Regions from separate parts of the Homo sapiens genome. Here region 1 is linked to region 2. The links are contacts of gene promoters, found by promoter capture Hi-C in human tissues and cell types (Jung and others, 2019). All regions are on one chromosome and are shown on one strand. Each heading gives the region's core, a stretch centred on a gene start or on the middle of the fragment in contact. The rest is flanking DNA. Distances are from core to core; before and after follow the strand shown.

What was found. The method cuts DNA at HindIII sites, captures the fragments that hold promoters and counts their contacts. A contact is called where the count stands out against the background at its distance.
Region 1: the fragment with the promoter of SAMD14 here is called in contact with the fragment with the promoter of XYLT2 in region 2 in 2 of the 25 tissues and cell types used here (H1 embryonic stem cells and mesenchymal stem cells).

Annotation. Positions count from the first base shown.
Region 1 is chr17:50,128,772-50,131,646 of GRCh38, reverse strand. SAMD14 (sterile alpha motif domain containing 14) reads left to right here and starts at 1,487. Exons shown (of 10, transcript NM_001257359.2): 1 at 1,487-2,130. RefSeq lists silencers at 1,392-1,471, 1,712-1,771. The HindIII fragment of the contact is 12,261 bases long and covers 1-2,875 here.
Region 2 is chr17:50,344,328-50,347,631 of GRCh38, reverse strand. It overlaps XYLT2 (xylosyltransferase 2), which reads right to left and starts at 1,506. Exons shown (of 11, transcript NM_022167.4): 1 at 1,357-1,506. The coding sequence starts at 1,491. RefSeq lists silencers at 90-384, 1,200-1,289, 1,360-1,459, 1,520-1,719. The HindIII fragment of the contact is 7,409 bases long and covers 1-3,304 here.

The DNA of each region.
Region 1 (2,875 bases), core at 238-2,737, 220 kb after region 2:
AGGGAACTCTGTCCTATAGACTCCACACCTCTCCTCTGACTCTAGACCCCTGATCCAGCTTCACCACTTGCCTTTTTTTTTTTTTTTTTTTTTTTTTTTTTTTTTTTTTTTTGAGATTTGAGTTTCACTCTGTTGGCCAGGCTGAAAGGCAGTGGCACAATCTCAGCTCACTCCAACCTCCACCTCCCAGGTTCAAGCAATTCTCATGCCTCAGCCTCCAGAGTAGCGCCACCATGCCTGACTAATTTTTGTATTTTTAGTAGAGACAAGGGTTTCACCATGTTGGCCAGGCTGGTCTCGAACTCCTGACCTCATGTAATCCACCCACCTTGGCCTCCCAAAGTGCTGGGATTACAGTCGTGAGCCACTGCGCCTGGCCTTTCACCACTTGCTCTTGAGCAAAGCACTTTCCTTCTTCTAAGTCTCTGTTTTCTCTGAGGCAGTGGGTAATGGAAACACCCACCTTGTGGGTTTATTGTGAGGGTGACAATAGATGATCTGAGAGCGCCTGGCACCTGCCAAGCTGTGACGTGCGGTAGCTGGTTGTGGATCCCTACATTGCCTCCCTGGCTGGCCTGCCACTACCATCAGCGCACTGGGTCCAAGTCTGATCTCATCCGTCCCCACCCCCACCTGCTCCAGGGCTTCCTGCCTCAAGCCAAGGTCCACAGCCATCCTAGACCCCTCCTCCCTCACCTCCTAGTCCAGCAGGTCCCCAAATCCTGTCAGCTTCTTCGGTGTCAGCTTCTTCAGGCCTGCATCCTGAAGGGCTCTCAGCTTAATCTGTAATCTTTATGCCCACTGCCACCGGCCCTCAATAGCCTCCAGCGGGTCTCCCTGCCTTCAGAGTGCCCTCTGTAACCCTGTCTCCAGGGGAGCCAAGGGTGCTTCCTAAATGCACACCTGAGCCCCTCCCTCCTCTTAATTTTGTGTGTGTGCGCGCGCGCGCGTGTGTGTGTGTGTGTGTGTGTGTGTGTGGGCGGCGGGGTGGGCGGCTGGTAGAATAAAGTGCAAGCCCCCTGCACCTCCCCAGCTTCAATTTATCTTCCCCTCTTGCCCTCCCACCCCCAACACCCCCTGGCACTTCCCTACCCTGGCCCGCAGTTGTAGCCAACACATCACATCCTCTGGGAATCCCCCAGCCCAGCTCCCGCCGCGGCCGCCTGGACCCAGGCCGGGCCAGGGGTGCGCTCTCCCTTCCGGCAAGAAGTGCCCTCTGTTAGCTGGGCCCATGGCGCCCAGGCTCGTGAGGGCCTCCCCACTCGTCTGAGCCCCCGACTGGCCCACTGGCCTTGAGCGCAGTTAGGGGGCGGGGGTTCTGTTCACCGCTGTCCCCTCCAGCCTCGGCGCCCCGGCTGCTCGGCGGACGTTTGTTGAATGAATGAACTAATCGGGAGCCCTGATGGACCCGGCAGAGGAGGCGGAAGCCCCGTGGGTCCCGTGGCGGGACCGCCCCGGAGCCGCTCCCACCCGCGCAGACTCCGGTGCGCCGCGTCTCCCGCGGGCAGAGAAGTAGCTGCAACTCCGCTCCCCGGCCCCAGCCGCCTCCTCCCCGCCGCCCTCCCCCGCCCCCGCCCCCTCGCTCCCTCCCGCTCTTTGTCTCCTGGGCGCCCGGCTTCTCCGCCACGCGCCCCCCACCCCGACGCCCCTTCCCCGGAGACCCCCGCGGACCCCTGCCGACGCGACGCCGCGCGAATCGGCCCTGCCAGGCGGGGGCCCCGCGTCCGGCCAGGCCTGGCGGGCGGCAGGGGCGGGGAGGGAGGTGGCGCTCGCTCTTCGCTCTTCTCTCTCTCTCTCTCTCTGTCACACACACACACACGCACACGCACACGCACACACACACGGAGCATCCTCCCGTCAGGTCTCCTGGTCCAGCCCCGCCCGCGCCTCCTGCTTCCAGCGAACCTGTTCCCTCTCCCCACATCCCCCGCCCTCCATCTCCCCCGGCTCTGGGACCCTTCCCGCCGACCTCACCCCCACCCCCGGGATGGAGCGGCTCGAGCCCGCCCGGAGCCCCCCGCGGCCGGGGTGACGGTCCCCCCACCCCTCTCCTGCCCGGCCCCCGCCTCGAGCACCATGGGCCTGAGGGGTTCCCGGGGCGCCAGACGCTGAAGATGACCGATGCCGGAGGTGAGGGGCCGGGCGCCCTGGGGTGGACCGGGAACTGGGGCTAGGGCCACTCGGGCCCGCGGTGGGACCCTGAGTGGGGTTGGGCAGGGCTAAGCGACAAGGGCCTTTCTTCCCCTATCCCTAGGGGGACCGCACGGGGCTGGGGTGCCGGGCTGTCAGGGGAGGGGGCGGAGATAGGATTTATGGCCCTAATCCCCTCCCTCCCGCCCGACGCCCGGAGAAATTAATAAAAAGCTGGTGTGGGGGGAGGGGGAGAGGGCTTAACTCTTTCTTGCCCGGCGGGGAGTTGTGCTGATGGTTTGGAGAGAAACTAGCCACCGGGCTCTGACTGGGGAGAAGGGCTCTGAGAGTGGAGTAGGTGCCCTGTCCCCAACCTCACCCCATCTCCAACAGTGCTTTGAGGGGGTGCCCGACTCCTGAGGACTACCCCAAGCCTGGGGCCAGTGGACGGCCGGCGATATGGGAAGGGGGGACCACCTCTCTGGCTCCACAACTGCCTCCCCGACCGCTAGTCTCCTTTCCCATCCACCTCTTCCCGGCCTCTCCCAGTTGCACTTCTCTCTGTCGCTTTCTCCTCTTCAGGGGCCCTTTCCTATCGCCTGCCCGAAGGGCTTCTCCCTTCTCTCCCACCCTCGGGCGTCACTTAGAGCGGCGGAAGCCCTTGTTCCCAGTGCCAGTTCCCGTGGCCCCACTCTCGGTGTGATCTCTTTCTTCTCAGCAGCCCTGTGGACTCTCCGCCAGTTTG
Region 2 (3,304 bases), core at 257-2,756:
TTCCAGGGTCAGAGGGCTCCCTAACTGCTTTGGCAGCCCATTCCATCTTGGAATGTCCCATCTGCCCAAACAGTCTTCTTACACTGGGCCTGAAACACTCTCCTACTTGCTTGTCCTACTTGTAGGTCTACACCCCACGGATGTCACGGAGCCAGCCCCACCCCCGCCCCCACCTCCTTTTGGAGTTATGGTCTCATGTGACTCTGTTCCAGCCCCCATCACCATCCCACCCTCTGGGTTCTCCCAAAAAAAGGCAAGGGCAGCTCTTCTGTCTCCACACCAGGCCTTCCAGACTGGCGAGATGCGGTAAGGGGTCGCGGGTATCGGGGCTTGCCGGAGGACAGCAGCAGATAGAGTCTCTGACCCGGAGCCCTGGAGGCAGCAGAACAGGGGCGCTGGGGGCAGGGAGGTCCTGACCTCTGGGCCACAGCTTAGGGCTGTGGTGTGGCCTGTCCTCTCCATCTCCGCAGCACGAACCCAGACCCAATGGACCCTTCCTCACCACACCGCTGAGGTGTCTGAGCCTCCCGCTGAAACCACATCGGGGAAGAGGGAGAAAGACCCTCGAGGCAGGGACTTGGGGGCTGAGACGGCTGTTGGTTGCCCCTGCTCTGCGGCTGGGGCTCTGTTACAGTCCCCATTCCCTTAAAGCCAGAGGGCCCCTCCCTAATTCCCTAAGGTCCTGAGGCCAACTCACCAGCTCAGTTCCTCCTCTCCCTGCCCTCCGGAGACCCATCCAGGTTCTTCAAACCCCCGGCTGAGGAAGCCACACCTCGGGAATACTCCAGTTCTCTCCTTCGGCGTCACTCCCTGTTCCTTCAGTTCCCGGGTACACACTTTGTCCCAGGCCTGAATTCCACCCCCGAGCTCCCCTTCCTCACCGGCCGCTGCCCCTCGGGCTCAGCTGGGGAAGGACGCCCTGAGTCCCTTGGCCCTACTCCTCCGCCCACGGCGCGCATATCCCCGCCCCCTCCCAACTTCAGAAAGTTTGGCCTGGGGCTCCCCACCTCCGAGCAGGTTCGGGCCCAGCCCCGCCTCCCAGCCCCGCTCGCCGCGCCTGACCTTCATCGCTCCCTTGGCCGGAGACCACCCTAGCATGACCTGCTCCCCCCGCCCGACTCCCAATCCACCAGGGCCCGGGTCTCCAGGTCACGCACTGCCCCCGCGCGCAGCTCCCTAGGCCTGCTGGGGAAGGGAGTGCCGGGGGCCGGATGCTCCGCTCTGGGCGACCGCCGGCGCCCCGCACGCACGCACGCGGCCCGTGCCCCACTTCCCCGGCTGGGGCCGCCCGCAGCCCCGCCAGGACCCCGCGCGCCCCCGCGCCCGGCCTGCCCGCCCGCCCGGCCGTCGGAGCACCTCGCCCGCCTCGTCCTCCTCCAGGCCGCTGAAGCTCCACACTACCAGGCCCTGCAGCAGCAGGATGGCCAGCGCCGTGGCAATCGCCAGCTTGTAGCGCCGCACCAGCTTCTGCACTCGCGCGCTCGCCACCATCTTCCTGCCCGGGACGCGGGGCGCGCGCCCAGCCCTGCAACCCGGCCGCGAGCGCGCGCACGGGCGCGGGGCTGAGCCGCCCCCCCTCCTCCACGCCTAGGGAGGCGGGCCGGGCGCGCGCCGGGGCGGGGCCGGGGGCGGGGCCTGCGGGGCCAAAGCACGGCGCACCGCAGGCTAGGGGTGGAGCCGGGGCTCGCAACACCTTCAGTCCCGGCAGTCGCGGGCGTGGGCTTGAGCGCGTGCCTTCTGCGCTCGTGTCTCCGCCGGTGCCCCTGGCTCCCACGTGTGCTCCCCTCCACCTGGACGGCGAGCGCCTGGTGCTGGGGAGTGGAGGGTCTGCGGCACAACCTCTCTTGCCTGGTGTCGGGGGTCGTGGGCGAGTTCAGTCCCACGCGGGTAAGCTCTCGGTCCCGGGGGCCCAGGGAACGCCAGGGCTCCCAGAGACGCCGCCTTGGGAGAGGGCGTGTGAGAGCCACAGGCGTCTGCTTAAAAACCTGGAGGCCGCACCTGCGGGGCAAAGTCTAACCCCTTGACTGGCATCAGAGAGCCTTCACGAATCCTCCTTTCCGCTCTGCGCTCATCCTAAGCATCCTCAGGCCGCTCCCAGAGTCGTGGTTCTCAAACTACTCTAGCGTGTGTTGGAGTCTCTTGGAGGTCTTGATAAAACAGATTTTTAGTGCCCCTCCTCCCTCCCCCAGAGTGTCTGCTTTGGTAGGTCGGTAGTGAGGCCTAAGCATTAGAATTTTCAGCAGGTTCCCAGGTGATGCTGATGCCTTTGCTCTGGGACCAAACTTGGAGAACCAGTAGACCTCGACACATGCTGCTCCCTCTGCCAAGTCCCCACCCCCTACACCATCAGTGGCATCCTCCCTGTGCGTCCCCAGCACTGTGCAGTGAGCACCAATCATACATCCGGTCGTGACTGCTCTGGGATCTCGCCCTGCCTTGGACACCCAGCAATGCTCAAGAAATGTTGCGGAAAGCAAGCAGGGGAGGCCCAGATTCCCGTCTAACCAGCTGTCCCTAACATTTGTTTGAGAACCCGGCGTGTTCAATGAGCACCGCATTGGACAAGGTCTAAGCACCTGCGGCCTTCCCTAAGCCTGGCAGGCCCATGGAGAGAGGGAAGGCGAGAAGAGCAAAACAGTGGCCACCAAAGCAAGGTGAATCCCCAGCTGGGGAAGCCAGGCACTGGGAGGAGGAAGTCATAAAAATAGCAAACACAAGTTAGAAGGTTTAAAGGGAAGACGTTAGGAACCACTACAGAGAGGTCTGGAAAGAGAAGTGGCTTACAAAAAAAAAAGTTTGAAAAGTTAGAAGGCCATGATGGAGGGGTTTGGAAGTTGCCACAAGGTTGGGTTGATGAGAGAATTCTAAACTGATGTGTACAGGATACACAAGCATTTGATGGTACATAAATAACCTCCTTTAATCGTCTTCTGCGCTTTAGCATTTGTAATCATTCTGTTCCTCCGCGTTTGTTAAATGGGAGAATTGTAAACTATGTTTCCGACGACAGTTTGGCTACTTAAGAGAGCCTACACTTCAATGATTTTGGAAAACATCAGTTGACATCCCGGCAATTGATATGTTAATTAAATATTGATCTTGTGTGCTCATTAAATCAGATCCTCTAGGGACTTCTACCTGCCAAGAATTCCCCCCACAACAATGAAAATAGCTTTATTTTTCACTGATTATATAAGTAATAAATATCCATTATATAACATTTAAACACTAAACGAATAAGAAAAAAAGTAAAAGTCACCTACAATCCCACCCCTTAAGATGATCATCATTAACATTTTAGTGG